Linked DNA regions of Homo sapiens: all the other regions are linked to region 2. The links are contacts of gene promoters, found by promoter capture Hi-C in blood cells and fetal thymus (Javierre and others, 2016). All regions are on one chromosome and are shown on one strand. The core of a region is centred on a gene start or on the middle of the fragment in contact, and the rest is flanking DNA. Distances in the headings are between cores, read along the strand shown.

Evidence for each region. Contacts are between HindIII fragments. The CHiCAGO score rates a contact against its expected background, and 5 or more counts as called.
Region 1: a fragment that was not itself captured here is called in contact with the fragment with the promoter of INTS6L in region 2 in 1 of 17 cell types (total B cells); the score reaches 5.9 in total B cells.
Region 3: a contact is called between a fragment that was not itself captured here and the fragment with the promoter of INTS6L in region 2, in 1 of 17 cell types (total B cells). The highest score is 6.3, in total B cells.
Region 4: a contact is called between a fragment that was not itself captured here and the fragment with the promoter of INTS6L in region 2, in 2 of 17 cell types (naive CD4 T cells and activated CD4 T cells). The highest score is 5.7, in naive CD4 T cells.
Region 5: a fragment that was not itself captured here is called in contact with the fragment with the promoter of INTS6L in region 2 in 2 of 17 cell types (total B cells and neutrophils); the score reaches 5.8 in total B cells.
Region 6: a fragment that was not itself captured here is called in contact with the fragment with the promoter of INTS6L in region 2 in 9 of 17 cell types (neutrophils, naive CD8 T cells, naive B cells and 6 more); the score reaches 12.1 in neutrophils.
Region 7: the fragment with the promoter of CT55 here is called in contact with the fragment with the promoter of INTS6L in region 2 in 10 of 17 cell types (endothelial precursors, M2 macrophages, activated CD4 T cells and 7 more); the score reaches 8.8 in endothelial precursors.

What each region holds. Positions count from the first base shown.
Region 1 is chrX:135,955,939-135,959,284 of GRCh38, forward strand. No RefSeq gene overlaps it. Among named protein-coding and RNA genes, the nearest start is that of MMGT1, 16 kb to the right of the region's middle. The HindIII fragment of the contact is 4,472 bases long and covers 1-3,346 here.
Region 2 is chrX:135,518,736-135,521,997 of GRCh38, forward strand. INTS6L (integrator complex subunit 6 like) reads left to right here and starts at 1,925. Exons shown (of 18, transcript NM_001351601.3): 1 at 1,925-2,368; 2 at 2,506-2,583. The coding sequence starts at 2,258. INTS6L-AS1 (INTS6L antisense RNA 1) reads right to left here and starts at 1,939. Exons shown (of 2, transcript NR_046740.1): 1 at 1,832-1,939; 2 at 1,348-1,637. RefSeq lists enhancers at 2,079-2,158, 2,189-2,248 and silencers at 2,499-2,768, 2,829-3,028. The HindIII fragment of the contact is 2,771 bases long and covers 1,365-3,262 here.
Region 3 is chrX:135,044,186-135,047,594 of GRCh38, forward strand. No RefSeq gene overlaps it. Among named protein-coding and RNA genes, the nearest start is that of RTL8A, 6.2 kb to the right of the region's middle. The HindIII fragment of the contact is 3,140 bases long and covers 403-3,409 here.
Region 4 is chrX:135,105,522-135,108,779 of GRCh38, forward strand. No RefSeq gene overlaps it. Among named protein-coding and RNA genes, the nearest start is that of SMIM10L2B, 8.4 kb to the left of the region's middle. The HindIII fragment of the contact is 6,245 bases long and covers 1-3,258 here.
Region 5 is chrX:135,089,162-135,092,397 of GRCh38, forward strand. No RefSeq gene overlaps it. Among named protein-coding and RNA genes, the nearest start is that of SMIM10L2B, 7.9 kb to the right of the region's middle. The HindIII fragment of the contact is 620 bases long and covers 1,327-1,946 here.
Region 6 is chrX:135,979,310-135,982,736 of GRCh38, forward strand. It overlaps a transcript of SLC9A6 not described here. Among named protein-coding and RNA genes, the nearest start is that of SLC9A6, 4.4 kb to the right of the region's middle. The HindIII fragment of the contact is 3,139 bases long and covers 1-2,936 here.
Region 7 is chrX:135,169,722-135,172,895 of GRCh38, forward strand. CT55 (cancer/testis antigen 55) reads right to left here and starts at 1,677. Exons shown (of 6, transcript NM_001031705.3): 1 at 1,357-1,677; 2 at 1-57. The coding sequence starts at 1,450. The HindIII fragment of the contact is 3,215 bases long and covers 691-3,174 here.

The DNA of each region.
Region 1 (3,346 bases), core at 817-3,316, 440 kb after region 2:
CCAGAAATAGATCCACACATATGCAGTCAATTGGTTTTTGACAAAGGAACAAAAGCAAAGCAATGAAGAAAGCACAGTCTTCTCAACAAATGGTGCTAGGACAAGCGGATGTCCATATGAAAAAAAAAAAGGAACCTAGACACAGATCTTATTTATACCTTTTGCAAAAATTAATTTCAAATGGATTATAGATCTAAATGTAAAATGAAAACCTACAAAACCTTTGAATGGAAACATAGGAGAATATCTAGATGAGCTTAGGTTTGAAAGTGAACTTTTAAATTCAACACCAAAAGCATGATCCATGAAAGAGAAACCTGATAAGTTGATCTTTACTACAATCAAAATTTATCTGTGATAGACACTGTTATGAGAATGAAAAGAGAAGCCACTGACTGGGAGAAAATATTTGCAAAACCCACACGTGTAAAGGACTTGTATTCAAAATATACAAAGAAGTCTTACAACTCAACAATTAAGCAAACAAACCAGTTTTAAAATGGGCAAAAGACCTGAACAGATACCTCATCACAGGAGAAATGCAGATGGCAGATAAGCACATACAATGCTTAACATCATTTGTTGTTAAAGAACTGCAAATTAAAACAAAGAAATAGCACTACACACCTATTAATAACTAAAATTCAAAAACTGACAATACCAATTGCTGGCAAAGACATGGAGCAACAGGAACTCTTATCCATTGCTGATAGGAATGCAAAATGGTCCATTGCTGATAGGAATGCAAAATGGTACAGCCACTTTGGATGGCAGTTTGGCAATTTTTTTATTTTTTATTTATTTTATTTTTTGAGACAGGGTCTCACTCTACCATCCAGGCTGGAGTGCAGTGGTGCGAACACGGGTCACTGCAGCCTGGAACTCCCAGGCTCAAGCAATCCTCCCACTTCAGTCTCCTGAGTAGCTGGGACTACAGACATGCACCACCATGATTGGCTAATTTTTTTGTATTTTGTGTAGAGACAGGGTTTCACCATATTGCCCAGGTGGTCTCGAACTTCTGGGCTCAAGTGATCGCCCGTCTTGGCCTTTCAAGGTACTGGGATTATAGGCATGAGCCACCGCATTCAGCTTGGCAATTTCTTATAAAGCTGAACATAATCTCATCATATGACCCAGCAATTCTGCTCCTCGGTATTTACACCCAACCACTTTGAAAAATCATGTCCACACAAAAACCTGCATGTGAGTGTTTATGGAAGATTTATTCATAACCAGCAAAGACTGGCAGCAACCAAGATGTCCTTCAATAGGTGAATGGATAAACAAAGTGTGGGAACATCCATACAATAAAACTATTATTCAGAGATAAGAAGAAATGAATTATCAAACTTCTGAGAGAAATGGAGGAATCCTGAATGCATATTGCTAAGTGAAAGAAGCCAGTCTAAAAAGACTACATACTGCATGATTCCAACCACATGACATTCTTGAAAAGGCAAAACTATAGAGACACTGAAAAGATCGGTGGTTAACACAGGCTCAGCAGAAGGGGAGGGAAGGATAAATATGTGAAGCACAGGGATTCTTATGGCTGTGAAACTATTCTATGTGATAATACAATTGTGGATACCTAACATTATGAATCCATCATAACCCACTGAACTTCCAGAAACAAAAAGTGAACCTTAATGTACACACATTTTTAAAAACCATTTGGGAGGTCAGGAGAATACCAAAATCGAAGGTAGAATGTTACAAAACAATCTAAGTTTATCACAAATTTATGAAACAATCTCACCAAAGGAGGTGAGGGAAAAGGTCCTGACCTAAGTAACTTTCAAAATGAGTAGCCTGTGAAACTAATGGCAACAAATGAACAACCAACAAAGCTACATAATCACTGTGCTCTAGCTGATAAAGTTGTTTCTTGTGGGGGAAAGGGTTAACAATTCTGAAGCCAGTTTATATGTATACTGGAATTAAACAGTTGAAGCAAGAAGAGAGCCGATGGTGGGAGTCGGGTTTCTCAGTTGCAGTGGAGGTTTACAGATAAGCAAAGGGAAGAGGTTAGAATGATCTATGTGGTAATGGATTGAACATCAGTATGAACTCATGTTTCATTTAATGGAAATACAGATGTTACATATTTACACTTAGGCATAAATGCACAGGTTAGTATGCACATATATATTTCCTTGATCTGTCTGCTGAAAAGGCCTAGAGGCAATGAAACGTCAAGCAGCAATGAGCGAACCTAGTGGCCAGATCTTGGTTTGTAATACCATTCTTCAATGAAAGGAACCATGCTCCTTGGAGAAATGGCTGATTCCAGGACTGAGGAAGGAAATATACAACACAAGCCCGGAACATCTTTGTAGTGCCAGGAAGGAAGTACTCAAATAAAAAAAAAAAAATAGAAAACTCACAATGACAACGATGGGAATATGTCAAAGGGACACAGGAGTTTACTGAAAAAGCTACCAATGTCTGAAACTGGAACAATTTCAACAAGATATAGTATTAAAGGATAAAGCAAGGTATGAGTCCAAACTCATAAAAATAAATGAATAAATGGGGGAGAAGAAGCATATCTCCCATGCAGAAGAATTCCAAATAAGTTATGTAGATACTCTGTCCTCAAGGAGGTGGAGCATAACATGTCACTCCTTATGTGTGGGCTGTGCAGAGTGACTTCCTTCCAAAAAGTACAGTATGGAAAGGGGAAAAAACAGTACTTTACAGTGGGGAAACCTGACAAACACTACCTCAGCCAGGTGATCAAGATTAACATCAGCAGTATAAATGTGTCCTTGATATGATGTGATAAGAATAGCACTTTACCTTAGTGGTCTTCCTCCAAAAACACACACAACTCCAGTTTAATAACCGAAAAATCATCTAACAAATCCCAGTAGAGGAAGATTCTACAAAATACCTGACCAGCACTCCTGAAAACTGTCAAGATCATCAAAAACAAGGGAAGTCTAAGAAACTGTCACAGCCAAGAGGAGCCAAGACATGATGACTAAACGTAATGTGGTCCTCTTGATAGAATCCTAGAACACAAAAAGGATACTAGGTAAAACCAAAGGGGCTGGACGCGGTGGCTCACGCCTATAATCCCAGCCCTTTGAGAGGCCGAGGCGGGCGGATCACGAGGTCAGGAGATCGAGAACATCCTGGCTAACACCGTGAAACCTCGTCTCTACTAAAAATACAAAAAATTAGCCGGGCATGGTGGTGGGCACCTGTAGTCCCAGCTACTCGGGAGGCTGAGGCAGGAGGATGGCATGAACCCGGGAGGCAGAGCTTGCAGTGAGCCGAGATCGCGCCACTGCACTCCAGCCTGGGTGACAGAGAGAGACTCTGTCTCAAAAAAAAA
Region 2 (3,262 bases), core at 675-3,174:
GGCTTCTAGTATCTTTTTCATCCTTATTTCTTCATTAATTCCCTACTTTCCACCAGAATGGCCTGAAATGCACCATACATAGTACTATCTTTGGCTGAGTTTTTGTTCATATCATTCCTTCCAACCCAGATTCCCTCTCTTCCCTTTTTGTGCCTTGTTCGTGAAATCCTATGAATTTCTAGACTGGACCATTGTTTCCATAGCACTTTTTAACTTGCATCCTTGTTTGTCCCTGATTCATATACTGCCATATGACTTCTTTTAAAATCGTATTTCTCTGAGAATGTTATTGAATGTGCATATATAATATATGAAACATATACACAGAACATACATATATATATAGAGAGAGAGAGAGAGAGAGAGAGTGTATATAAAATATATAAAATACTTTTTTGAGATGTTATCTCATTCTGTTGCCCAGGCTGGAGTGCAGTGGTGTGATCTCAGTTCACTGCAACCTCCGTCTCCTGGGTTGAAGTGATTCTCCTGCCTCAGCCTCCCAAGTAGCTGGGACTACAGGCGCCTGCTCCCATGCCCGGCTAATTTTTGTATTTTTAGTAGAGACGGGGGTTTCACCATGTTGGCCAGGCTGGTCTCAAACTCCTGCCCTCAAATGATCCACCCACCTCGGCCTCCCAAAGTGCTGGAATTACAGGCATGAGCCACTGCGCCTGGCCAAAATATATAAAATATTATGTATGTATATGTCATCATCTCTCCTCAATGAAACTGCAAACTCATTGAAGTCCTGGATTCCACATTGTCAATAGTAATTGCCAGGAATACACAAGTCCAATTTTTAAAATTGTGTCATATGAAGTAGTCAATCAAGTGTGGTTGGCCACTTACTGAGTCTCTTCACAGAGCCAGACCTGAGAGTATCCGTAATTGTTACCCTAACCTCAGGGAGCTGCATTTTCCTCTACTGAAAATTGAATACAATGCCATCTGCCATAATTAATTCAAAGATTAAACAAGGCTACCGTGGGTGCCTGGCTCTTCATAGGCACTCAATAAATGTGAGTTGAGAGCCTGCCCCTGTGGTCCCAGCTACTTGAGAGGCTGAGATGGGAGGATCGCTTAAGCCCAGGAGCTGGACGCTGCAGGCAGCTATGATGGGGCCACTGCACTCCAGCCTGGGCGATCAAGCGAGATCCTCTTTATTTATTTATAAAAATAAATAAATAAATAAATATGTGAGTTGAATCACAATCTAGGTTTGCAAACCTCCATGTGTAAAGGCTGCGCAGAGGGAACAGTGGTGGAATTATCACAGGCAGGCCAATGTTTCAAAGAGCTTAGTGAAACTGAAGAAGCTTGTGCATACAAAAGGCCAGTTTAGGTAACTGTAACTGTGTTTAAGCTTTAGTTTCCTTTCTAAGTAGATATATGTGGAATGCAAGGCCAGCAACCAACTCACAAATACTGATCAAGACGGGGGAGGGATCTAAAGGAATGTGAGTACGTCCTGCCAGGAAAGAAGTTTGCTGCTTCTGAAATATTTTCGTCTTCGCCACTGGCAGGATTGATCGATTGCAGTTAGCGAAGAATTTTCTGTGCAAACTGTCCAAGCATCTGCTTCTGTACTTCTGTACAACTGTTGCTCAAATTCACTCTTCTTTTCGAATCACCATCTTTGAAGAGAGACAGAAAAATCCATTTAAACCACCCGAACTAATCATTCGAACTGCTTCCAAGTCCTTTAAAGGAGAATCCTAGCGAGGGTCCGTAACACTTCCCCTTACCCTCTGCCTGGGTTCAAACTTCAACTCCCAGGGTTCGCCCAAGTCCCTCCCCTAGTCCTGTCATCTAATGAATATGCAAATACCACATAATTGGCAGCCAATGGCATGGGTTCTGGTCACATGGTGCCGATGGTAGGTGAGCAGACAGAAGTTGTCAGTGAACAGAGACGGCGCTCAGTCTGGGGCGAGCGCTCTAGTGAGCGCGGACGGATGCTTAGGCAGTAGTCCTGGCAGCGGCAGTAGTGGTGGCAGCAGAAGAGAGGAAGGGGGAGGGCCCCGAGGGCTACACACGCTCACACTTTCAAGTTCCCTTGGAGGGAGAGGAGGTGGGGCTGCAGAAAGAGGAGGCCAGGAGCGGTCCCATCCGTCCCGTCCCGTCCCGTCTCCCCCTCTTCCTCTTGCTCCTTGCTCCCCGGCTCTGCGAGAGTTGAGGGTTCAGGTGGCCGTACGCGGCAGTGAGGGCAAGAGGGCCGGGAGAGTGGGGAGCGGAGGCAGGAGTGCGGGGGAAGATGCCCATCCTGCTGTTCCTCATAGACACGTCCGCCTCTATGAACCAGCGCACTGACCTGGGCACCTCTTATTTGGACATTGCCAAAGGCGCTGTGGAGTTATTCTTGAAGGTAAAGGGAGGGGAGGGGAGAGATGGGGAGAGCTCCCGAGGGATTTCAGGGTGTGGATTGAGGTGCTTCTGTAACGTTTGTATCGCCCTCCCCCCTCCTTTCCTACGCGACCCCCTCCGTCATCCCTTGCCCCGCAGCTGCGCGCCCGGGACCCGGCCAGCCGTGGAGACAGGTACATGCTGGTCACCTACGACGAACCCCCGTACTGCATCAAGGTAAAGGGGCTACGGGTGGGGGGACAGGCGGGAAGCGGGAGCAAGTCGGCGGGGGCTGCTTACCCCCCTGCCCCCGCCTAAGGCGGTCCTGCGTCGCCCGGCGGGGCGGGCGGCGAGGGGGTGCGCAGAGGGCGGGCGGAGTGGTGCCGTCGGCGGCTTCGGAGTAGCTGTCGCGCCTGGGGTCGGGGAGAGGGGACCGGGGAGGAGCAGCCCCGGGGAGAAACCGCAGGAGGGCCGAGCTCGTGGCGCGACAACCGCAGCCGCCTCGGAACATGGCGGACATTTTGCTTTTGTATGAGCCTGCGAGAGGGAGACTGAGGGCGCTGCTGAGATGGAAAGGAGGGAGGGGAGGGAGGAGCGGGGAAGGAGGGCCCGAAACCCGGAGGGAGGCTGCGAGGCGGGCCCGCCCCTTCGAGGCGCACCGCGCGAGGGTCGCCGCGCGGGGGGCCGGACGGAGCCTGCGACTCCGCCCCGAGGTCCTGCCGGCCGGGCGCGCGGGCTTTCCCGGAGCCTGGGCTCCTCCTCTGGCCCCTCCTTCCTCCCCCGGTCTTCCTCCCCCTCCTTGGGCTCTTCGCTGCATCTCCTCCTTCTCCCCCTCTTCCTCCTGGTCCCCTCCCCTTCCTGCTGAGAGCGTGGCAGAGCCAGCCGCCGGCCTTCAAAGACTAGACAACCGCCTTTG
Region 3 (3,409 bases), core at 723-3,222, 470 kb before region 2:
GCTACAGATTTCTGTATACTGATTTTGTGTCCTGAAACTTCGCTGAAGTTGTTCATCAGATCCAGGAGCTTTTGGGCAGAGACTTTGGGGTTTTCTAGGTGTAAAATCATAGTGTCTACAAACAAATAGTTTGACTTCCTCTCTTCCTTTTTGGATGCCTTTTATTTCTTTGTTTTGTCTGATTGCTCTTGCTAGGACTTCCTATATTCTTGATGTTCATATCTTCCAGGAAAAGACCACTAGGGACATCTTGTCATTGAACAAATATTGAGTTTATTATTCATTGCAGTGAAGGAGAACATACCATAGAGAACTGTTGGGAATCTCAGCAAAAAGGTGTTAGAAAATGTTTGAAGTGTTTGGGCGTATATTAGGTGATTTTTGAGAAGTTTAAGGAAGTGAAGCTTTGCTCTGGCTTGGATGCTGTCAGGAAGCAGGGCTAATTGTATGCTGAGTGTCTTAATAAACATTTTATCTGGGAGGGCAGACATTATTAGTGTTTTTTTGTGTCCTGTTTAATACATCTCTGCCAAACTTAATATCATAGTCTCCTATACTTTCCTCTAATATCGTATTTTAGCTTTCAAATTTAAGTCTATGATCCATACTGAATTAATTTTTATGTATGCTGAGAGGTAGGGACCAATGTTCATTTTTCAATATAGGTATCTAATTGATCCAATAGCACTTATTGCAAAGACTATTCTTTCCCCCCAGTGAATTGCAATGGTGCCTTTGTTATAAATTAGGTCACCATATATGTGTGAATTTCTTTCTGGACTGTTTATTGTATTGCATTTTTCTGTCTATCCTTGTACCAATACCATACACCTTAATTTATGTTCCTTTATAGTAAGTCTTAATATCTGATAATGTAAGCCATCTAACTTTGTACTTCTTGAATATTACCTTGGCTATTCTAGATCCTTTGCCTTTCCATATAAATTTTAGAGTCACTTACCAATGTCTTTTGTGTAAGAAATCTTTGTCTAACCCAATATCATGAAGATACACTCTACTCTTATGTTTTCTTCTAAAATCTGCTTGATTTTTATTGGGATTGCATTGAATCTAAAAATAAATTTAGGGAAAATATATACTGTAACAATTTTGAATTTTCCAATTCATTAACATCTTATATCCTTCCATTTATTTAGTTGTTTAATTCATCTTAATAATGTTTTGTAGTTACTAGTGTTGAGGTATTGCAGCTATTTTATAGATTTATTTCTAGATATTTGATACTTTATAACACAACCATAAATGGTATTATTTTGTTAAATTTTATTTCTACTTTGTTGTTATTAAATAGAAATACAATTAATTTTTTATAACAGCTTTATTGAGATATGATTCACTTACTATAATATTACCCTTTAAAAATATACAAGTCAGTGGTTTTTAGTATACTTGCAGAGTTGTCCAACCATTACCATTATCTAATTTTAGAACATTTCTATCACCCCAAGAAAATACCCTATGCCTCCCTATTTTCTCCTTCCCCAAGCCCCAGGCAACCTCTAAATGATTTTCCACATCTATATATTTGTGTATTCTGGAAGTTTCATTTAAATGGAATCATACAATATGTGGTATTTTGTGACTGGTTTCTTTTATTTAGCATTATGTTTTCAAGGTACATCCAAGTTGTAGCATGTATGTAGCATTCATTCCTTTTTAAGGTTGAATTCCATTGAACGGATATACTATATTTTATCTATTCATCAGTTTCTGGAGTTTTGGGTTGTTTCTCATTTTTTGTTATTATGAATAATGCTGCTATGAACATTCATGTACAAGTTTTTGTGAGGTCATATATTTTCAGTTCTCTTGGATATATACCTAGGAATAGAATTACTGTATGGCAACTCTCTGCTTAACAATATTAATAATTACATATTATCACCAACTCCTACTGATGACACTTATGTTGCTTCAAATTTTGGCTACTGCAAACAGGGCTGCTGCTTATGATCTATAGGTTGCTCACTTCAGAAGTGCCTCTTACCAAATGAGTGACTGAGGCTACAATCTAGCCCCTACCCAGTCCACCATGTGAACCAGTGGGGCTGCATACACACTTAATAAGGTTTGCTTTTTTTGAAGCACAAAATTACTAACAGTTTAACAAACTCAGCATTCATGGGGCTGCTTTCCCCAAGAGGAGGTACCTTTTATTAATTTAGATAAAGGTACTATGCAGCTTAGCAGAGGTACTAATCATACATACATTTTTAAAAAATGCTATTGTCAACATCCTTGTTGGAATTGCTTGGTTGTAGGATATGTTTGTCTTAAACTGTACAAGGTGCTGCCACATTCATCTCCAATTTTGTTGTACTATTCTACACTGTTATAAGCGGTATATAAGAACTCTCATTTCTCCATAACCCCTCAACACTTAATATGGTCATTTTTACTTTTTTTTTTTTTGAGATGGAGTCTTGCTTTGTCACCCAGGCTGGAGTGCAGTGGCATGATCTCGGGTCACTGCAACCTCCGCCTCCCGGGCTCAAGCGATTCTCCTGTCTCAGCCTCCCGAGTAGCTGGGATTACAGTCACACACCACCACACCTGGCTAATTTTTGTATTTTTAGTAGAGACGGGATTTCACCGTGTTGGTCAGGCTGGTCATGAACTCCTGACCTCAGGTGATCCATTCGCCTTGGCCTCCCAAAGTGCTAGGATTACAGGCATGAACCACCATGCCCGGTCTAATTTGGCAATGTAATGCTTTTGAAATGATACTGTTTTTGTTCTATTTAAAATCTCTCTGATTACTATTGCAATTATCCATCTTTTCAAATGTTTCTCACTTGGAATTGATTGTTCACATATCTCTTGGATACCTTCCATTTGCTCTTCCAGATTCACTTTCCACTCTCCTCTATCCTGGAACAGGGTCAGCTCTGTTCCTAGAGGCTGACCTTTATGGACTGCATAAACCATTCCCTTGCTCTCTGGCTTCTGGTTGAGTTTGTCCAATGGTAGAGCTCCATCTCTACCAGATTAAGAGGTGGCTGTGGCTGAGTTCCTCTATCAAAGGCCACAGGTCCTTTCCAGGGATTCTCTTCTATAGCTAGAGCTCTCTGTGTTCCAGTAACCCCTCCCTGCCCTTACCCTTTCATGCCTTGGTGGGAGGCAACAGCTCATTACTGTTGCTAGCCTCAGGATAATTCAAAATCCATTGTTGGTTTCAGTATTAGTCAGCTATTGCTACAATAATGCTGTATAAGAAATCTCCGCCAAATTAATTAACAATCATTTGCTCTCTTTGCTCATGTGCTATGGGCCATCTGGGGCTATTCTTCTCCAGGATGCAGTTCATGTGGGCTTGGCTCTGGGATTCAGATTGTGTTTAGATCTGTTCCATGTGAATCACTGTATGGCCCAAGCTGAGGGATCAGCA
Region 4 (3,258 bases), core at 693-3,192, 410 kb before region 2:
AGTTGTCACCTTGTCTGTGGGAGGATTCAGAATTGGGACCAAAAATTGTTGTAGCCTCATTTATCTTCCCCAGGTACCATGCCAGCTGGCACACACAGAAACGTGGTGATGATCGTGTCAGGTTTCTATCAAGTCATAAAATATTTCCATTGTAAGAGTCTGATTGTTATATTCATGTTGCACTTTAGCTTTTTTAGCATCTTTAAATTTCAGCAGCCATCTTGAAGAGTAATTATCGTCTAAAATCCAGTAATTTGAAAGGGTTGTGACTAAAGGGTTGTGACAGGTCTCTGTTGCCTGTACTTGCAGTGAAGGGGGCTTGTAAGGAGGTGGAAACTGAGGCTCTGAGATAGGTTAGGTGGGAGTCTGTGAACCCAGTGTATTTGCATTCACAATCAGCATTATTATTTATTTATTTTTAAATTTCAACTTTTATTTTATTTTATTTTCTGAGACAGGCTCTTGTGCTGTCACCCAAGCTGGAGTTCAGTCATGCGATCTTGGCTCACTGCAACCTCTGCCTCCCAGGCTCAAGCAATCCTGCCTCAGCCTCTTGAGCAGCTGGGACTACAGGCCATGCCACCATGCCCCGCTAATTAAAATTTTTTTGTGTAGAGATGGGGGTCTCACTATGTTGCCCAGGCTGGTCTCAAACTCCTAGGCTCAAGCAATCTTTCCACCTGAACCTCCCAAAGTGCTGGAATTACAGGCATGAGTCACTGTGCCCAGTCTCAGCTTTTATTTTAGATACACAGGGGTACATTTGCAGGTTTGTTACATGGAAATATTGTGTGATGCTGAGGTTTTGGATATGAATCCTGTCACCCAGCTAGTGAGCATTGTATCCAACAGATCGGTTTTCAACTCACCCTTCTCCCTTCCTCCCTCCTCCCCCTTCTAGTAGTCCACAGTGTCTATTGTTTCCATATTTATATCCATGTGTGCTTAATGTTTAGTTCCCATTTTTGAGCTGGAACATGTGCTATTTGGTTTACTGTTCCTGTGTTCATTCGCTTAGGATTATGACCTCCAGCTCCATCCATGTTTCTGCAAAGTAGTAAGATTTCATTCTTTTTTATGGCTGCATAGTATTCCATGGTGTATTTGTGCCACATTTGTTTTATCCAATCTACCATTGATGGGCACCTGGGTTGATTCAGTATCTTTGCTATTGTGAATAGTGCAACCATGAACACATGAGTGCATGTGTTTTCTTGGTATAATGATTTATTTTCATTTGAGTATATACCAGTAATGGGATTGCTGGGTTGAATGGTAGCTGTTTTAAGTTTTTTGAGAAATCTGCAGACTACTTTCCACAGTGGCTGAATTTATTTACATTCCTATCAACAGGTATAAGCATTCTCTTTGCAGCCTCGCCAGCATCTGTCATTTTTTGACTTTTTAGTAATAGCCATTGTGACTGGTGTGAGATGGTATATCACTGTGGTTTTGATTTCCATTTCTCTGATGATTCGTGATATTGAGCATTTTATAATATTTGTTGGCCACCTGTATGTCTTCTTTTGAGAAGTGTCTGTGCATATCCTTTGCCCATTTTTAATGGAGTTATTTGTTTTTTCTTGTCAATTTAAGTTCACTATAGATTCTAGATATTAGGCCTTTCTTGGATGCATAGTTTGTGAATATGTTATCCCATTATGCATGTTATCTGTGTTTTTTTTTTCTCTATTGACAGTTTCTTTTGCTGTGTAGAAGCTCTTTAGTTTAATTAGGTCTTATTTGTCCGTTTTTGTTTTTGTTGCAATTGCTTTTGGGGACTTAGTCAAAAATTCTTTGCCAAGGCTGATGTTGAGAAGAGTATTTTTTAGGCTGTCTTCCAGGATTTTTAGAGTTTGAGGTCTTACATTTAACTCTTTAATTGATTTTGAGTGAAATTTTATATATAGTGAAAGGTAGGGTTCCAGCTTTAGTCTTCTACATATGACTAGCCAGCTATCCCAGTACCATTTATTGAATAGGGAGCCCTTTCCCTATTGCTGGTTTTTCTCGGCCTTGTCGAAGATCAGATGGTTGTAGATGTGTGGCCTTATTTCCAAATTTTCTATTCTGTTCCATTGCTGTATGTGTCTGTTTTTGTACCAGTACAAAAAGCTGTTTTGATTTCTGTGGGTATATAATATAATTTGAAGTTGGGTAGTATGATGCCTCCAGCTTTGTACTTTTTTCCTAGGATTGCATTGGCTATTCAGGCTCCTTTTTGGCTTCATGTGAATTTTGGAATAGTTTTTTTTTCTAATTCTGTGAAGAATGATGTTGGCAGTTTGATATGAATAGCATTGAACCTGTAAATTGCTTTGGGCAGTATGGCCATTTCTATATTAGTTCTTCCTACCCATTAGCATGGAATTTTTAAAAATTTATTTATGTCATCTCTGATTTCTTTCATCATTGTTTTGTAGTTGTCCTTGCAGAGATCTTTCACCTCCTTGGTTAGCTGTATTCTTAGGTATTTCATTTTCTTTGTAGCTATTGTAAGTGGGTTATGTTCTTGATTTCACTCTCAGCCTGGATATTGCAGGTGTGTAGAAATGCTCCTGAGTTTTGTACAATGATTTTGTATCCTGAAACATTACTAAAGTGATTTATCAGTTCTAGGATCCTTTTGGCACAGTCTTTAGGGGTTTCTAGGTACAGAATCATATAGTCAGTGAAGAGAGATAGTTTGACTTCTTCTTTTGCTATTTGGATGCCTTTTATTTCTTTTTCTTGCCTGATTGCTCTAGCTAAGACTTCCAGTACTATGTTGAAAAGGGGTGGTGGGAGTGGGCATCCTTGTCTTGTTCCAGTTACCAAGGAGAATGGTTTGAGCTTTTGCCCACTCAGTATGAACCTGGCTGTGGGTTTGCCATAGAACCTTATTATTCTGAAGTTTGTTCCTTCAATGCTTAGTATGTTGAAGGTTTTCATCATGAAGGGAAGCTGGATTTTATTGAAAACTTTTTGTACATCTATTGAGATGTTCATATGATTTTCCTTTTCATTCTGTTTATGTGGTGAACCTTGTTGATTGATTTGCATATGTTGAACCAGTCATGCATCTCAGGAATGAAGCCTACCTGATCATGGTGTATTAACTTTTTGATATGCTGCTAGATTTGGTTTGTTAATATTTTGTTGAGGATTATTGCATCTATGCTCATGAGGGATATTGGTCTGAAGTTTTCTTTTTTCATTGTGTCTCTGCCAGATTTTGGTATTAGGCTGATGTTGGCTTAATGGAATGAGTTAGAGAGG
Region 5 (3,236 bases), core at 387-2,886, 430 kb before region 2:
AAATTCAAGCCTGCTGAAGAAATTTGCATAAGTAGCGAGGAGCTGAATGTTAATCACCAAGACAATGGGAAAAATGTCTCCGGGGCATGTGAGAGACCTTCATGGCAGCCCCTCCCATCATAGGCCTGGAGGCCTAGGAGGGATCAATGGTTTCCTGGGCCAGGCCCAGGGCCACCCTGCTCTGTGCAGCCTCAGGACATGGTGTCCTGTGTCCCAGGTGCTTCAGCTCCAGCTGTGGCTAAAAGAGGCCAAGGTACAGCTCAGGCCATTGGTTCAGAGGGTGCAAGCTCTAAGCCTTGGTGACTTCCATGTGGTGTTGAGACTGTGGGTGCACGGAAGTCATGAACTGAGGTTTGGGAACCTCTGCCTTGATTTCAGAGGATATATGGAAATGCCTGGATGTCCATTCAGAAGTTTCCTGCAGGGGCAGAGCCCTCATGGAGAACCTCTGCTAGGGCAGTACAGAAGGGAAATGTGGAGTTGGAGCCCCCACACAGAGTCACCACTGGGGCACTGCCTAGTGGACCTGTGAGAAGCGGGCCACCATTCTCCAGACTGCAGACCCCAGAATGGCAGATCCACCAACAGCTTGCACCGTGTGCCTGGAAAAGCCACAGATGCTCAATGCCAGCCTGTGAAAGCAGCTGGGAGGGGGGCTGTACCCTGCAAAGCCACAAGGGCAGAGCTGCCCAAGGCCGTGGACATCAGCATGACCTGGATATGAGACATGGAGTCAAAGGAGATAATTTTGGAACTTTAAGGCATAATGACTGGCCTATTGGATTTCGGACTTGCATGGGGCCTGTAGCCCCTTTGTTTTGGCCGATTTCTCCCATTTAGAATGTATGTATTTACCCAATGCCTGTACCCACATCATATCTAGGAAGTAACTAACTTGCTTTCAATTTTACAGGCTCTTATGTAGAAGGGAACTGCCTTGTCTCAGACTTTGGATTTGGACTTTTGGGTTAATGCTGGAATGAGCTAAGCCTTTAGGGGACTGTTGGAGAGGCATAGTTGTGTTTTGACATGTGAGGACATGAGATTTGGGAGGGGCCAGGGGTGGAATGATATGGTTTGGCTGTGTCCCCACCCAAATCTCATCTTGGATTATAGTTCCCACAATCCCCACATGTGGTGGAGGGGACCCGGTGGGAGGTAATTGAATCATGGGCTTGGTTACCCCATGTTGTTCTCATGATAATGAGTGAGTTCTCATGAAATCTGATGGTTTTATAAGGGGTTTTTCCCCCTTTGCTCGGCACTTCTCTCTCTTGCCACCTTGTGAAGAAGGATGTGTTTGCTTCCCCTTCCACAATGATTGTAAGCTTCTTGAGGCCTCCCCAGCCATGCAGAACTGTGAGTCAAGTAAACCCTTTTTCTTTATAATTACCCAGTCTTGGTTATTTCTTCATAGCAGTGTAGGAATAGACTAATACAGACTCAATGTCTGCTCTTCATCAATGTCATATTTAAATATTGTGGCAAGTGACTGAGCCGCCTCGGCTGGTTGCTGTTGCCTGGGGTCCTGCTTGTCACTTGATCCTCTTCCTGGGAGGAACTGGGAATGTGAGATGATGTGGGGTTGTGTCCAGAGGGTCAGGCATTCATGTGTTTGTGGCATCCATTAACTACAAGGCCAAGACATCCATGTCCAAGGAGAAGGCCCCAGGGTTAGAGCCAGGAGCCCAGACTAAAGGCAGTGTGGGCGAGCCTGCCAGCATGGGAGGGGAATGTTCTGCTTTTTCTCCAAAACAGGAGGCCAGGAGGAAGAGTCAAGGAGTCTGTGCTGTTCTCCACTGGTCAGGCAGTTGAGGAATATGGCCAGATCAGTCCTCAATGATCCCATCGTTCACTAGAGATTCCCACTCTCTGAGCCACCCTAATGGGGAAGGAGTTGAGGGCTAGGATTGCTTGGGAACTAATGGGATGGGGCTACTTTTGTAAGCTTTTTATACCACAGGGGCAGGACAAGGGCTGCAGGGGATTGAATGAAAGGCCAGGAGAGAAGTTCATCTATGGAAAAGGCCCAGTGGTGAGATAGTAAAATGTGTCAGCAAATTTTGTTTTCATTATTGAGTTGAAATCCACATAACATAAAATCAACCATTTTGAAATGTATAATTCAGTGGCATTTAGTACATTCACAATGTTGTGTAACCATCACCACTGTTAGTTCCAAAACATTTTCATCTCCCTAAAAGGAGACCCTGTACTCATTAAGCAGTCACTCTCCATCCTTCCCTCCCCTAGACCATGGCAACCACTAATCTGCTTTCTGTCTGTATGAATTTACATATTCTAGACATTTCATATAAATGGAATCATAAAATTTGTAATCTTTCGTGTCTGATTTCTTTCACTTAGCATAATATTTTCAAAGTTCATCCACCTTGTAATATGTATCAAATCCTTCATTGTGGGATTATTTTGGGGCTGAATAATATTCCAGTGTATAAATATACCAAGTTTTGTTTATTCATTCATCAGTTGATAGACTGATAGACATTTGGGTTGTTTCCACCTTCTAGCTATTGTAAATAGTGCTGCTATGAAAATTCATGTTTGAGTACCAGCTTTCAGTCATTTGAGTATGTACCTAGGAGTGGAAATGCTGGGCTATAGGATAATTCTAGGTTTAACTATTTGAGGAACCACCTGTTTTCCACAGTGGCTGCTGTACCAGTTTACATGCCCATTAGTAATGAACAAGGGTTCCAATTTCTCCACATCCTCACCAACACGTGTTATTTTAATTTTTTTAAAAAAAGTTGAGCTGTGCGTGGTGACTCACACCTGTAATTCCAGCACTTTAGGAGGCTGAGGAGGGTTGATCACTTGAGGCCAGGAGTTCAAGACCAGCCTGGCCAACATGGTGAAATCCCGCCTCTACAAAAAACACAAAAACTAGCCAGGTGTGGTTGTGCACGTCTGTAATCCCAGCTACTTGGGAGGCTGAGGCATGAGAATCACTTGAACCCAGGAGGCAGAGGTTGCAGTGAGCTGAGATTGTGTCATTGCTCTCCAGCCTGGGCATTGAAGACTCTGTCTCTAAATAAATAAATAAATAAATAAATATCCTAATGTGTGAAGTGGGTGAGGTGAGCTCATTGTGGTTTTGATTTGCATTTCCCTAATGACTAATGACATTGAGCATCTTTATGTGCTTGGTGGCCATTTGTATCACTTCTTTGGAGAAATGTGTATTGAAACTCTTTGCCCATATTTTGATTGGG
Region 6 (3,427 bases), core at 117-2,616, 460 kb after region 2:
ATACCTTCTCTTCTTTGGCGCTCCCACAGCGTCAATATTATGCATATAGCTCAAAAATCCATCACTGGTCCAGTCTTTACTCCTGAACTGCAGAGCCAAGTTCCTAAGTGCCTATGTTGACATCCGTTCTTGGATATCCTACCAGTCCCTTAAATCCAACCTGTCCATAGTTGAGCTCTACTTTCTGACTCCCACATTAATGCTACTGACAGCCCTCTGTTTTTCAGTTATCCAGGTTCAAACCTTTGGAGTCATCTCTCAGTTCTTCTTCCTCAGGCACTCCCACTCACCCACCCAATCAATTCCAAGACAGGTTAATCCTACCTCTGCATTGGCTCTTTGCATCTAACTTTCCATATGCATTCCTACTGCACCTGCTAAGTTAAGGCCTCACTACTCTTCAGCAAGATGACCTTTATAACCTCCTAACTGGCCTCCCTAGTACTTACCTTTCCACATTTCTTTTCTTTTCTTGAAATGGAGTCTTGCTCTGTTGCTCAGGCTGGAGTGCAGTGGCACGATCTCAGCTCACTGCAGCCTCCACCTCCCAGGTCCAAGCGATTCTCCCACCTCAGCCTCCCGAGTAGCTGGAATTACAGGCGCACACCACCACGCCCAGCTAATTTTTGTATTTTTAGTAGATATAGGGTTTCACCATGTTGCCCAGGCTGGTCTTGAACTCCTGACCTCAAGTGATCTGCCCACCTCAGCCTCCCAAAATGCTGGGATTACAGGCGTGAGCCACTGCACTCGGCCTCCACATTTCATTCACCCCCTTTTCTGTTGCCAAATTAATATTGGGGAGGTTTTTGACCAGGAAAATGAATGAGTTAAAATTTTCTGTGGCATAGAGGACTTCCACAATATGACTTCAACCTAGTTTTTCAGCCTGTCCCCCAATACATGATTTTTTTTTTTTTTTAAGACGGAGTCTCACTCTGTTGCTCAGGCTGCAGTGCAGTGGTGCAATCTCGGCTCACTGCAACTTCGGCCTCCCAGGTTCAAGTGATTCTCCTGCCTCAGCCTCCTACCAATACATGAATTATTTAATTCAGTGTTTATCAGGCACCTCCAACGAATCAATGACTGTGTTGACTAAACTTATCTATGCTGTTCAGTCATCTAGTATTACACTGAGTGAAGCTCTCTTTTCAGCTTATCCTTGAATTGAATCTCTCTACCTGGAGAAATTTAATGTTATCTGCAGATATGAAGATTTCTTTGACACTTCATTAAATTTAAGAGATATTTATTTATTATTTTTAGAGTCGTGGTCTCACTCTGTTGTCTAGGCTGGAGTGCAGTGGCATGATCATAGGTCACTGTAACCTCGAACTTCTGGGCTCAAGCAATCCTCCCACCTCAGCCTCCCAAGTAGGTGGGACCACAGGTGCACACCTCCATACCTGGCTAATTTTTTAAATTTTTGTAGAGATGAGTTCTCACTATGTTGCCCAGGCTGGTCACAAACTCCTGGCCTTAAGCAATGCTCCTGCCTCAGCCTTCTAAAGTGCTAGGATTATACGTGTGAGCCACCATGCTTGGCCTAAGAGACATTTATTGATGCACAGATATGTTTTATTAAGTTCCTGTTTTGGTTAGGCCTTATGCTAGATGCTGTCAGTAAGGAAATAAATGCCTAGTTCCTGCCTTCAAGATGCTCATGACCTGTTGAATGACAAACTTGTCAATCAAACATGACAGTACATCATGGGAGCTACTAGGATAGAGATCTTCCCAGGGGGCCATAGAGCCCTTTCTGAAGAGGGGCCCTGTATTAGTCTGTTCTCACACTGCTATAACGAACTACCTGAAGACTGGGTAATTTATGAAGAAAAGAGGTTTAATTGACTCACAGTTCTGCAGGCTGTACAGGAAGCATGACTTGGGGAGGAGGATCTCAGGAAACTTGCGATCATGGTGGAAGGCAAAGAGGAAGCAAGGAGTGTCTTCTTATGGCAGCAGGAAACAAAAAGCGAGGGGGAAACGCCACACACTTTTAAACCCTCAGATATCCTGAGAACGCACTCACTATCACAAGAACAGCATGGGGGAAACTGTCCCCATGATCCAATCACCTCCCACCAGGTCCCTCCCCCAACAGGTGGGGATGACAATTTGACATGAGATTTGGATGGGGAGACAGAGCCAAACCATATCAGGCTCCTAACTCAGCCTGAGGGCATCCTGGAAAATTTGGTGATCTTTAATCTGAGTTTCGTCAGACAAGTAGAAGTTAGTTAGGTGAGGAAAAAGTTGAGGACTATCCAAGTAGAAGGAACACATGGAAAGGCACATAGACGGCAGGAAACCACATGAAGCATTCAAGGAACTAGAAGTTCAGAATGGCTGAAGCAAAATATATTTGGGAAATAAGCACAGGATATAAGGGTGAAGAGACAGTCTGGAGGCAGGGTGTGTGGAGCATTGGGTGCCAGGCTAAGGAGCCAGAGCCAAAAGCAAGGCAGGGGGCATTAGAGGATTTGTGTTCCAGAAACACCCCCTTATGAAAGTGTAGAGGAATGATTGGCAGAGACTAAAGAAGAGGTCAGCATATCTTTCTGGCAAAGGGCCAGATAGTATATATGTAAACTTTGCAATCCACAGTCTCTTTTGCAACTGCTCAACTCTGCCCTTGTAGTGCTAAAGCAGCCATAGACAATAAGTAAAGGAATGGACATGGCCATGTCCAATAAACCATTATTGATGGACACAGAAATTTGAATTTCATATCACTTTCACATGTCACAAAATATTCTTTAATTCTTTTTTTCTCAGCCCTTAAAACGTGAAAAACATTCTTAGTTTCAAGACATACAAAAACAGATAGCAGGCTGGATTTGGCCCTCAGACTGTAGTCTGATTTTTGATAATCCCTGGACTATCCCTGCACTCCCTGGATGGGAGTGCAGAGAATGCAGACAATTCCTTTGAGAAGCTTATCTATGAAGAGGAAAGGAGAGATAGTACAGTAGCTGGAGGGGTGTGGATGAAAAGGTGTTTCTCAGAGGAGACCTGAAAATGTTCATGGAGAGCAGAAAGAGATGATAGAGAAGGAGCCACTGAAGATGGTGGAGGTGGAGGGCGGGGGTTGGGGGGGGCGGTGATTGTTGGAGTAGATCCTGGAAGAAGAGGAAAGGAAGTGATGACATGCAGAGTACAGTTTGGTCAATTCGCTTTTTTTTTTTTTTTGAGACAAAGTCTCACTCTGTCACCCAGTCTGGCCCAATATCAGCTCACTGCAACCTCCATCTCCTGGACTCAAGCCCTTTTCCTTCCTCAGCCTCCTCAGTAGCTGGTGCTACAGGCACGCGCCACCATGCCCGGCTAATTTCTGTTAATTTTGTAGAGACAGGGTTTCACTATGTTGCCCAGGCTGGTCTTGAACTCCTGGGCTCAAGTGATTCTCCCGCCTTGGCCTCCCAAA
Region 7 (3,174 bases), core at 427-2,926, 350 kb before region 2:
CATAATCACCACAGAAACTTGTGACAACTCCCTGCACAGTTGTCAACTGGGTGTCACCTACAAGATAAAGAAACAAGGTCACATTATTAGCCTCAAATGCAAACACCTACTACAAGTAAGTCTTACACTCACCATCTGCATAACCCTGGGCAGAGAAGTTTTATAACGTCTCTGACCTTGTTTTCATCTGTCAATCCACAACAATCACAATTTCGCCTAATAGGGTTGTTGTAGGTTTTTAAAATATTTTTAAAAATTTATTAAAATTTAAAAATTTTAATTTTTAATTATTTTTTAATTTTTTGAGCAGAGTCTGGCTCTGTCGCCGGGGCTGGAGTGCAGTGGCGCAATCTGGGCTAGCGGCAACCTCTGCCTCCTGGGTTCAGGTGGTTCTCATGTCTCAGCCTCCCCAGTAGCTGGGACTACAGGTGTGTACCGTCACACCCAGCTAATTTTTGAATTGTTAATAGAGACGGGGTTTTGCCATGTTGCCCAGGCTGGTCTCCAGCTCCTGGCCTCAAGTGATCCACCTACCTGGAACTCCCAAAGAGCTGGGATTACAGGTGTGAGCCACCGCGCCCAGCTTACGAATATTAACTGACACATGCACATCAACTGTCGAGAGCTCTGAGTGCCTTGCACAAGAGTGTGTAAATGTTACCTGTTAGCATTTCTACATATGAGTCTTTAAGCTTCTGCTCCTATTATATTCCTTCATCATTATCACCAACATGATGAGTAGCACCTTCTATAGATACTTAACCATCTCAGCAGACAAAGTACTAAAAGATATCTGGAGATTGAAGGCTAGCCCAAAACGGCATCTGAATGGTTTTCTTTATTTCTCCTTCTTCTTCTTCTTCTTTTTTTTTTATTCTGCACAAGCCTAGCTGATCAGCAATACTTAGGGATCAAACCTCAGCAGTCGCCGGCAGGGGTTCTCTGCCTTCCTTTGGGATCAGATAAGTATGAGGCATCAACTTGGCTTCAAATTACATTCCCGTTTGGGATACAAGCCTAAATTAACTCGCAAATTAGGGAGTTTCTCGCCTACTGGAAATATAAATAGGCATGTGCTGTGCGACCACGTGGGGGAAAAGCACAGGCGGTACAGACCCCAAGGTCTTCTCTGTCAACACCTTCCCGCTTTAGATGGACAGGAGAGTTTGGGGGTTGGTTCTCAGGGAATTGTTGAGGACTCGGGTTGCCTCGGGTTGCCTCCCCATGCACGCACAAGATGGAGCCACCGTCACGTGCAGTACCCACCCGAGTTACAACAGCCTCATTCCGGGGGTGAGGAGAACCCCTATTGGGAGGCTTCTGGGGTGGGGGACAAGGGGACACACAGAGGAATACCTTGTGGGAGGCCCTGCTGCTGTGGGCCCTGTCGCTCTGCAGGGTCGGCCGTCCTCCCGTAGAAGGCCAAAGCAAGTCTCAGAAGCCTGAGCATCGTCCCAGTTGTCACCACCGGCCTGGGCACCGCTTGTGGCAGATGAAGCACGAGGCCTCCTCAGTAAGGGAAGCCCTCAGGTCACGGCGTCTCCTCAGGGACTCACTTCCTGCTTCTCCTCAGACACTGTGGCATGGGACCCACCCGTTAGTGAGCCCCCCTCAGGAGAGTCAGGGACACCGCAGCCTCCAAAGGAGCTCCCAGCTTCTCCGCTGACTTCTCCCTCTGAGCATGCGCTCGTCAGGGCCCGCCTCTACCACTGTCCAACCAATGGGCGTGCAGTGGGTGGGCGGGCAGGTTCTTGTGGCTACTAAAAGGCGATGGGTGGGAACATCGTGGCTTCTCCCATCAAGGCTGAGGGAGCCATTAGGATGGCCTGGGGAAAATGGCTTGGGAGCTTGGGTTCTGCATTTACTAAGGAGATACAGGGCTCTTCTCTTGGGTTCCCTGGGAGGATGGGTGCCTGAAACACCGGCTGTGCAACCAAAAATCCTGCTCCTGCCCTTGTATTCGTGGTGCTTAGCATAAGGAGTCACCACTCAGTGGGCGGTCAATAGTTACTCCTCACCAGGGATCAATTTTGTGGAGAGAGGGCATCATGTGGGTAGGCAATGTTTTAGTGATGGCAAGTACGTGTCTTGTGTACTAGGACTGCCATTTTTAGTCCAGTGATAATTTATAATAGAATCCTTTTATGATCATTGCTACCATGTACTCATCGCTTACCTGGTTATGCTTACATTACTCTGATATACACATTACCCTTATTCATTCATTCAGCAAAACTTGTAGGGCACTAACTGTGAACCAGACACTGTTCTGTGTTCCTAAAATTTGTTAATGAATGAAAGAGTCAAGAATCTTCACCCTGTGAGGGTAGATTTTTCACAGGATGACGAAAGGGTGACACTAAACATCACATAATAAAATATATGGTATGTTAGAAGGCAATAAATGCCATGGAAAAATATAGCAGGACAAGGGAGATCCACAGTGCTGGGCATGGGGTATTGGATTGCACTTTACAATAGCATGGTCAGAGTAGCCCTCATTGGAAAGCAATAGTTGAGAAAGATGTTGGAGTTAGCCAGGCAGCTATTTTTGGAGGAGCCGTTCAGACGGAGGGCACAGTTTGTGCAAAGACCATACAGCAAGACTGTGCGTGATGTATTCAAAGAAAAGCAGTGATTAGAGCAGAGGCAGTGAATAGCTAGAAGAGTGGGAAGTATGGTAAGAGAGATAATAGAGGTTCAGGCTGCATGTGGGATAGTGGGGCACTGGAAGTCCTTTGGCTTTTATTGTCCATGACACGTAAAGTCCCTGAAGGATTTGGAGCCTCCAGGGATCACTCCAGGTGCTTGGTTGTGAACAGGCTGGAAGAGGTCAGAGCAGGAAGCAAGGAGAACAGTTTGGATGATTCTGATGCAATCCATGGGCACTGTGGATGAAACCTGTTTGTCTTTCCTCTCCTACTGTGAGAACAGGTAAGAGCATTGCTGAAGATTATCATCTGGTTAACAGGATCGGTTGAGGGCTATCTATGTCTCAAAATGTAACACAACTGTGTTAATTTCCTAGGGAGGCCACAACACATTACTACGACTGCGTGGCTTTAAACAACAGAAATTTATTCTTCTGCAGTTCTGCAGGCTATGAGTCTGAAATCAAGGTTTCCGTGAGGTTGGTTCTTTCTGGCAAGCTCTGAGGGAGAGTTTATTCCAAGA